Regions from separate parts of the Homo sapiens genome. Here all the other regions are linked to region 2. Evidence: promoter capture Hi-C in 16 types of primary human blood cells and fetal thymus (Javierre and others, 2016). All regions are on one chromosome and are shown on one strand. Each heading gives the region's core, a stretch centred on a gene start or on the middle of the fragment in contact. The rest is flanking DNA. Distances are from core to core; before and after follow the strand shown. Region 1 holds the start of RNF40 (ring finger protein 40). Region 2 holds the start of ZNF267 (zinc finger protein 267). Region 3 holds the start of SRCAP (Snf2 related CREBBP activator protein).

Region 1 (2,751 bases), core at 146-2,645, 1.1 Mb before region 2:
CTCCCTGTGGCCCTCAGTGTCCCCCTCTGTACAATACTCCTTAGCGGCCATGAGACTCCATTTACATTCTGTCTTTGGCTCTTTTTTTCTCACACTGCCTCCTCTTTGGACTGGAGAGGCTGGAAAGCCAACTTCCAGTCACCTGGAGTAATTGCATCTCCAGGCCTCAGTCTCATCTGTAAAATGGGGATGCCCTGGCCACAGACAGGACTGTTGGGGAGACAATAAAGAACGCAAATATTCAGTGTAATTTTTGTCTCTTCACACTCACCACATGCAGATCCGGGGTCGGGGCAGCGGCGGCTGCGGAAAGAAAGCGAATTGGGGAAGGCAGCTGCGGTGTCCTGGCCCGTAGCGAATCTCCAGCAGGCCGGAGAAGCCGCTGTAACTTGCCATCTCATCTCAAGGACTAAGGAGAGGCGCGGGCGAGGGAGGGCTTCAGCAGGCCCTAGGTGCTCTACGCGAGCACAGTAACCACCGGGGTCACACACCCCTGCCTCTCCTCGCCCAAGCAGCCCGGGAGACGTCCCGAACGTTAGTAAGCATAATGACAGGTGGCGCCTGCGGGGGAGCCGGTTTATAAATATTCACGAGCAGACCAGACTGTCCCGCCCTCACCGGAAACAAGTTGGCTCCGGGGTCTTCATCCGCTTTCGCCGCCGCCGCCGTCGTCCACTGAGTCCGCACACTCGCACGCGTCCGCGCGGCCGACCCATGCACTGAGCTGCGATCCTTCCCCGCTTCCCGCCGCAGCTCGGAGAGATGTTCAAGCTCCGACTGCACCCTCATTCCCAAAAAGTGGCTGGTCTTGCGGTTGAGCATCTCGCCGCTCTTCCGTGCCGCGAGGCGCCCCGGGCTCCCGCCGCCTAGGTTCCAGGACAGCCAGCGCTCGGTCGGCGGCTACCAAGGCCGGGCCCGTTCGCCTCGCTCCGGCCAATCTACGCGCGGAGAGGCGCGGCGGGGCGAATCCGTGGGGGCGTCTCCCTCCGTCTCAACGGCGACGGTTGCCAAGGGGGCTTGTGAGGGAAGGAAGGCGGAAAGCGCAGGCTCACGCCAGTGGGAGCGAAGAGAACGCGCAGATACGTGAGAAGTTGCGAGTGCCCACCTGGGCGCCCTCTCTTCCAGGTTGCTAATACGAGGGCCGGTGCTGTCCTCCAGGCTGGGAAGTGGGAGCGCGGTGTCAGTTACTATGGGAACTGCCTCTTGGCCAATCACCGAGAGAAAGAGGAGGTGTTTGGGAAGAAGCCAGAGGACCCGAGTGGCGGGACCAAGCGTAACCAATAGAAGCAGAAGATAAAGAAGTTTCCTCACATCCGGGGCTGCCTTTGGCGCCTGCGCCCTGCGCACCGTTGGGGGGGGGGCAGTGGCGTCCAGTGACGCCCAGTGACGTCCGGTGAAATCCAAGATGGCGGCGCTAGGCTGACCCTCCTGCTGGTGAGGGCTCTGGCGCCGGGGGGGACGGGATCCAGCAGGTGTGTGCAGGGTGGAGGGTGTTTGGGGCTGTGGAACACCAGCCGTTCCCACATCTCTGCTCTGTGTCTTCTGCAGGTGACGGAAGTACCGCCTCCTCCCGTTTGACGCCCCTCAGGGGACCCTGCATCGCTCCAGCCGCCGCGGCCATGTCTGGGCCAGGCAACAAACGCGCCGCCGGCGACGGGGGCTCAGGGCCCCCGGAAAAGAAGCTGAGTCGTGAGGAGAAGACCACCACGACTCTTATCGAGCCCATTCGTCTTGGAGGCATCTCTTCCACGGTTCGTGGGCTCTTGCCTTAACCCTCAGAACTTCCCAGAGCCCTCCCTCTGTTCTCTGGCCAAACTGTGCGGAATCTTACACCCACTTCCCCAAGTTTAGCAAGGTCCGCGTTACAGGACCTTGAAAGAAAGGTTAGAAAGAAGCTCAGAACACGACGCCTGTCTTCCCTTTACAGATAGGAAAACAGGTTTCCAGGGGGCGTGTGACTTGTCAAAGACTAAGGATTTACAAGGGGACAGGCAGAAACAACGTGAGCCTCCTCACAACAAAGACACTTTCGCTGTGTGTTGTCTGAGCCTCCTTAGATTCTGTTAGCGGTTAGTGTGGGAATACCTCCATCTCCCATGCATTGCAGATGCTCTGCTCCTCTTTCTCTCTCTGTGATTGGTTTGTGGGCCCTGCTTGACGCTCTCGTCGGCCCCTTTGTTTCCTTTGGTAGGAGGAGATGGACCTGAAGGTACTACAGTTCAAGAACAAGAAACTGGCAGAGCGGCTGGAACAACGGCAGGCTTGTGAAGATGAACTCCGAGAACGAATTGAGAAGTTGGAGAAGCGGCAGGCCACAGATGATGCCACACTCCTCATCGTCAATCGCTACTGGGCCCAGGTGGATACCTTCTGCTTTCAAAGACCAGGCCTTGATTCAGCTGCCAATCCCCAGATTCCCCTGCTAGGAAAGGAGTATCATGTTGGAAAGCACTAAGGGATTCATAACATTTTTGATGTTTTCTCCTTCCAGCTGGATGAAACTGTGGAAGCCCTTCTCCGATGCCATGAGAGCCAGGGGGAGCTGTCTTCAGCGCCTGAGGCACCTGGGACCCAGGAGGGGCCAACATGTGATGGGACTCCTCTCCCAGAGCCGGGGACATCAGAGCTGAGAGGTAGGACCAGAGTGCTGGGATCTGGGGAGCTTAAGTTCTGGGAGAAGTCCTGGGGAGGAGGGGACTTTGGTGTTGGGCCCCTGAATTGCCTATCTTACTACTTCTCACGAAATGGATT
Region 2 (2,700 bases), core at 102-2,601:
TTCTGCTTTGGGGAGGGAAGCATTTGTTCCACACGTCTCACTGAATAAGGCACAGAGCCTGATCTGTCCCAAGTGGGAGTTTAACCAAGCTAGATGGCGGCCGAGGGCCCTGGCCCAGTTTGACACCCACCTCCTCTCCCACCTTCTACTCAGCCAGAAGACTAGGAGAATCTACTCAGCCGGAAGACTACGAGGTGCTGCAGCGCCACTAGCTCCAAGACTCCAGAAAAACAGGAATAGGGCATTCTGGCAGGTCAAAGCAGACAGAATACTTGAGCTCAGGAGTTGGCGAACTGACTATTAACCTGTAGCCCCAGTTACTTGGGAGGCTAAGGTGGGAGGATCGCTTGAGCTCAGGAGATGGAGACCAGCCTGGGCAACATGGTGAAACCTCATCTCTACAAAAAATACAAAAATCAGCCGGGCATGGTGGCATGTGCCTGTAGTCCCAGCTACTCAGGAGGCTGAGGTGGGAAGATTGCTTGAGCCCCGGAGGCTGCAGTGAGCCATGACTGCACCACTGCACCAGCCTGGGCAATAGAGTGAGACCCTGTCTCAAAACAAAAGCAAAAACCAGAGGTAGGGCTGAGGAGTCCGTGGCCACAGAGCCTGAGCCAGCACGGCCCAGAGGAACTGAGCTCCCAGCCCTGTCGCTGCCAAGGACCCTTCTTCCCTGAGCTTGAAGGGATTGAGAAGGAGAGACAGACGGACAGTCAGCGGCCCCGTTACCAGTGATGCAGACTCCAGGAGATGCGGGCAGAGTTGTAGATTAGAAGAATAGGCCAGCCCCTCTTCCACGTTCCACCACGGCCCGCAACATCCTCCTGGGACCCCAGCCTGCATGCCCCTATAAGATGCTTTTGCACTGGTTCAGTCTATGTATCATGCGAGGGCCTAATTGAAAACACGTGAATGAAGTGTACGGCCTTCTGTTCCCAGCTGAGGGGCCCCCTCCCACGGTGGCGTTAGCAGTGGGGTACAGTGCGGTAAGAGAGGTGCTAAGGGACGGGATGAGGGTCTTTCTTGCTTTAAAGGTGTCTAAATATACTTCTTCTTAAACTTAATTAGCTAATAAGATGTCTTATACAAGCAGAACCAGGTAAGGGAAAGAGCAAGTGTATTTCAAGTCGCAGCTCACCCCTTAATTAGCTGTAATACCCGCAGCAGGCGGCCCCACCTCAATGAGCCAGTCTCCCTTTCAAAAAAAAAAAAAAAAAAGGCACTAATAATGAGGGGGCGGGGCATGGAGCTTTATCCAATCAGGGGCGCTGGAGTGGAAACCGTCCAATCAGGAGTGAAGCCGGAGAGCAGGGGCGGCTTCCGGGATTTGGCGGGGGCCTTCGTCGGCTCCAGTTAGAGCTCGGGTCTCCTCGCCACAGCTCCGAGTCTTTCGTTCTGGGAGGCCCAGGCGGCTTCGCGTTCTGAGAATAAACAGAACCTCTGTTGCTCTGCGACTTGCAGGCACTGGGAGATTCGTAGCTAAGACGCCAGGGCATCCCGGAAGCTGGGAAATGGTGAGTGTGCGGGGTCGGGGGTCCCCAGAGGGAGGGAGGGCGGTGGTCGGAAGCGGCGGGAACCCGCTGTAGGGGCACCCGGGCCTCCCCGCAGTCAGCCTCGGGGTCTGGGCCCCGAGTCCCAACTGGTGCAGCTCGGCCCTCGGTCCCCTCCGCTGCAAGATGGCGGCCAGGCCGGCAGCCGGGACCCCGCGTGTCCTGTCCCATCCCGACCCCGCAGAGCGACCTCGTCCCTGGCCGGAGCCCTCTCTGGGCAGCTCCGCGTCGCAGCCCCGCGTCTCCCCCAGATTGTGCGGTGAGGACGGGAGCGTCTCAGGGGAGACCCAGGTTCGGTGTGTGGGAAGAAACCGTGCCCTGTGGGGTCCTCAGTCACTACTCCTCTTAAGAATTAAAGGGAGTCACTGTTAAAACGTTGAAGAATTTGAGCAAATAGCGATTTGTGACATGGGAAGCCTGCAGTCCTGGTTTGTGGTTCGGAGATCCCCAGAGGGGCTTGAAGGAAAGGTTTTTATAAGGTGCATGAGGAAGCAGACCAAATTAACCGATGGGTTACAGTTTGTAGTTGCCTTATTTAGACTATGCAGGTGGAGGTGAATTGGAGCTTTGTGGTTCGTTAAGTCTGAATTTTGTTTTCCCCTAAAGTTGTAATTTACAAGAAAAGCATTTGAGTTTGGTTTTGGTTTTTCTCCCTAGAAACCTGGGGCACTATAACCACTTCCGTATAATCGCCTGCTCATTAATCATCTTAACACTGCCCAGGGGAACTGGTTTTCCCCCTGCGCTTTCCTAACGTGTAGCACGCAGAGTCTCAAGTCCACCACTGTGTTCCCCCAGTCTAACTGGGCTTGCAATAAAATATTAAATTTCCAGTTCCTTCCCGACATTTCCAAAGGCCAACTTCCCCTCTCCAGTTCACATTCTTAACTATTGGTCATTTATTGTACATTTCAGACAGTATTTTACTCATTAATCATGATTTCACAGAGCAGTGGATGACACTTTTTTAAAGATTTGTGTTTTTTTGGCATACATTTCACGTGAGAGGAAAGCAGAGAATAAAAAATCCCTGACACTCCACTGCAAAAAAAACTGTGCCTCTTTTTCATTCATCTTCCCCAGGCACAGACACGTTATCGGAAAGAATGTCTTTTGACTTGAGGTTTTGCTTTGGAAACTTTACAGGGCC
Region 3 (2,764 bases), core at 53-2,552, 1.2 Mb before region 2:
GGCTGCCATGGGAATCGGGAGGCCCAGGTTCCACTGCTAACTTGCTGCAGCTTACTGGGTGATCTGTAAATAAAAAGGGAGGTGGCGGTGGTCCGAGCTGGCAGCCGCAATGCAGCCCCAGGTAGATCTAGGGGCAAACGGTAAAGGCGCTCCGAGGAAGGGCGAGCGCGCAGCCTCTGGGAGACTACACCTCCCAGGCTGCCTTGCGCACCGTGCTGCACCCTACGCTAGCACGCGAGCCTCCCCGTTCCCCCACCCTCCAGTTACTGTCTCTCGCGAGAAGACGGGCCGCGCCGGCGATAGCGATTCCGAGCGAGTGGTGGTGGTAGTGGTGGTGGTGGCGGCCGAGACGGCGGCGGCCATTTTGGTGAGGCCTCGGGAGCGGCAGCGGCGGTTCGCTGGGAGTAGCGTCTGCCCTTTTTCCCACCCACCGTCCGCATCTGTGTGCTGCGCGAAGAGGCAGTGGAGGCAAGGCGGTGGCAGTAGCCGCAGTCTCCAGGGGAGTTTAAAGGCCGCGAAGGCGGTGGCCAAGAGGGGGCCCTCCCCCCTCCTAGGCGGGAGGGGGGGTGGTGCGCACGCCCCCGAGGACGCAGGTAAGGAGAGGGAGACAAGATGGCGAACGCCCCACAGTTCCCCCTCCCATGACGGCTGACTGCGCGCGCATCTTTCCGCCACCGCCTCCCCCCCACCTTCCCGGGGTGCTGCGCGCGCACCCTCAGCCGGGGCCCCGGGGCCGGTGCGCGAGGCTGTCGGCGCGCGCCCATAGAGACAGACTGAGGGGGTCAGGCCGGCCGGCGCTGGGCCCCGGCGTGTCTCCTCTCCCTTCCCGCCCTTCTGCGCACGCGTGCCTGAGCGAGCGAGCGAGCGAGCGAGCCCTGAGAGGACGGACCCAGGTGCGCTCCTGCCCGCCCACCAACCCAGTCACCCCTCAGGGGCGCGCGGGAAGAGGAAGGGGGGCGTGGGACGAGTAGTCGGGGCGCGCGCCCACCACATCTAGCCGGGGGACCAGGACCTGGTGGCACGAACCCTCCCTTCTCTCAGCCTTTCGCGGTCGGGTGATGGGGGGGCTCCCTGACGGGCTTGGATGACGAGCTTCCCAGCCCCGCGACCCTTGTGTGCGTGGGCTCGGGTTCTGGCGGGAGCCCCTGGGCCGTGCGCGCAGCCGGCTCGCTCCGCCTCCAGCCGCGCACGCGCGGGCCCCTCCCCCGCCCGGCGCGCACGTTGGGTGGGGTGGGAGTCTGGAGGGGGCGGGGCTATCTCAGGGCTAGTGGCAACTTGGGCAGAGGTCAGGGGTCACGCGAGGTCAGTCCGTCGGGAGGGCTAGGGAGATGGTCACGAAACCTGAAGTCAAGAGTTAAGGCTTGTTGGCTTCTGGTGAGCTCGGGTCTTGGGAACGTGTGGCGGAGTAGGGAGTGAATCAAAGCCGGCACTGTGGTTTAGGAATTTCCTTAAACACTGGGGAAGCATTTCCGGGCCTCCTGCGGGTTCACACTGCCTGTTTCCGGCGCGTGGTTCTTGGCAGTGCGGCCTCTCGCTTTTGACTGCTCCTGAGTCTCCTTTTGCTGTGGTTCTTGTATTTGGGGAAGTGTCTCAAGGCGCAGGTATGGGATATACAGCGCCCTGCCCTGAATCCTGGGCGGATTTTCCTGTGACCAGCCTGTTTGTTGACTCTTCCCGGGAGTTCCACTCTCACTTCTGCGTTCAGCCCTCACTGGAAAGGCCCGCAGGCAGGTAGCACCTTTCTGAGGTTCTGGATGTGACAGCTTTTTTTTGCTGTATTTTTTTTTTGTCTTCCATTCTGTGGTTGGAGCCTTTACACTTAAAATTTTTGAACTTTCTTTCTTCACTCCTTTCCTGCTCCTGCCCCCAGGCAGGATCGTATGTCCCTCCGGAATTCACAAAACATGATTTGCATTTCCCTGAAATGTGAGATTTTCCTACTACTGTAGTTTTTCTGTTTCTAGTCTTTTAACTGATTTGGGTATATTTAAACGTCTCAAAAAACTGGAGTAAATAATACGCTTTGATGGATGTTTCAGGTGTGATTCCCTTCAGTACGGCGGCACCGTGGAAGTGCAGACTTTCACAGGGGGTGTGGTCTCAGCTCACACAGGTGAGGGATCTGCTACCATTTTGTGTGCTGATGCTAATGGGAGAAATGTTTGAGATAAAGCAATTATAGGTCCGTATTGGGGATTTTCACTCTAGAGAAGCATGGGAATGTTTGCATGTGATTTTTCTGTAGAGGGTTTGATTATAGTACAACAACAGAACTGAGGCTGTGGGTTGAGGAAAACGTGGTCAACCTGGCTCTACCAGGAAGAGTAGCAGGTTTTCCTTGGTTTTGGCATCAGACTGTGGATTGAAGCCCTCCTATCACTTTTTTACTGTGTAACCTTCCGCAAATCATAAGGTCTTAACTTCGTAACTTACAAAACAGATTATATTAGAATGTAAGCTACATTTAGGTCGGGAATCCTTTCTGCATGGCTATATCCGTTGTGTGTAGGAGGAAGTCAATATTTGTTATGCTGTGAAAAGCACTTGGTTTTTAAGGTAGGTGTGAGGATTATAGAACACATCAAACAGGTACTAAAAGTATCTTATACATAGTAAGTGCTCAAGAAATGTAACCTGTAATTTCTGTGTTTCTCTTTATTCAGTGTTATTTCTGGTTTTTTAAAAATACTTTTTCATCCCCTTTAACTGCATTTCTGTCTTTTTTTTTTTTTTTAACCCTACTTTAGGTGCTCCAGAGGCTGGT

The links. Contacts are between HindIII fragments. The CHiCAGO score rates a contact against its expected background, and 5 or more counts as called.
Region 1: the fragment with the promoter of RNF40 here is called in contact with the fragment with the promoter of ZNF267 in region 2 in 10 of 17 cell types (fetal thymus, non-activated CD4 T cells, naive CD8 T cells and 7 more); the score reaches 11.6 in fetal thymus.
Region 3: a contact is called between the fragment with the promoter of SRCAP here and the fragment with the promoter of ZNF267 in region 2, in 1 of 17 cell types (fetal thymus). The highest score is 5.1, in fetal thymus.

The regions. Positions count from the first base shown.
Region 1 is chr16:30,760,927-30,763,677 of GRCh38, forward strand. It overlaps RNF40 (ring finger protein 40), which reads left to right and starts at 1,396. Exons shown (of 20, transcript NM_014771.4): 1 at 1,396-1,434; 2 at 1,549-1,751; 3 at 2,192-2,359; 4 at 2,492-2,633. The coding sequence starts at 1,620. It overlaps PHKG2 (phosphorylase kinase catalytic subunit gamma 2), which reads left to right. Exons shown (of 10, transcript NM_000294.3): 10 at 1-250. CFAP119 (cilia and flagella associated protein 119) reads right to left here and starts at 1,136. Exons shown (of 9, transcript NM_001014979.3): 1 at 619-1,136; 2 at 272-303. The coding sequence starts at 822. RefSeq lists enhancers at 1-260, 225-374, 965-1,144, 1,100-1,737, 1,225-1,484 and 1 more and a silencer at 459-688. The HindIII fragment of the contact is 4,015 bases long and covers 1-2,751 here.
Region 2 is chr16:31,872,456-31,875,155 of GRCh38, forward strand. It overlaps ZNF267 (zinc finger protein 267), which reads left to right and starts at 1,352. Exons shown (of 4, transcript NM_003414.6): 1 at 1,352-1,514. The coding sequence starts at 1,512. RefSeq lists an enhancer at 1,173-1,467 and silencers at 1,354-1,403, 1,554-1,633. The HindIII fragment of the contact is 12,710 bases long and covers 1-2,700 here.
Region 3 is chr16:30,697,869-30,700,632 of GRCh38, forward strand. It overlaps SRCAP (Snf2 related CREBBP activator protein), which reads left to right and starts at 1,303. Exons shown (of 34, transcript NM_006662.3): 1 at 1,303-1,374; 2 at 2,040-2,113; 3 at 2,748-2,764. LOC730183 (a long non-coding RNA gene) reads right to left here and starts at 1,192. Exons shown (of 2, transcript NR_144637.2): 1 at 1,013-1,192; 2 at 1-63. RefSeq lists enhancers at 114-203, 234-423, 1,080-1,374 and silencers at 544-953, 1,094-1,323. The HindIII fragment of the contact is 7,629 bases long and covers 1-2,764 here.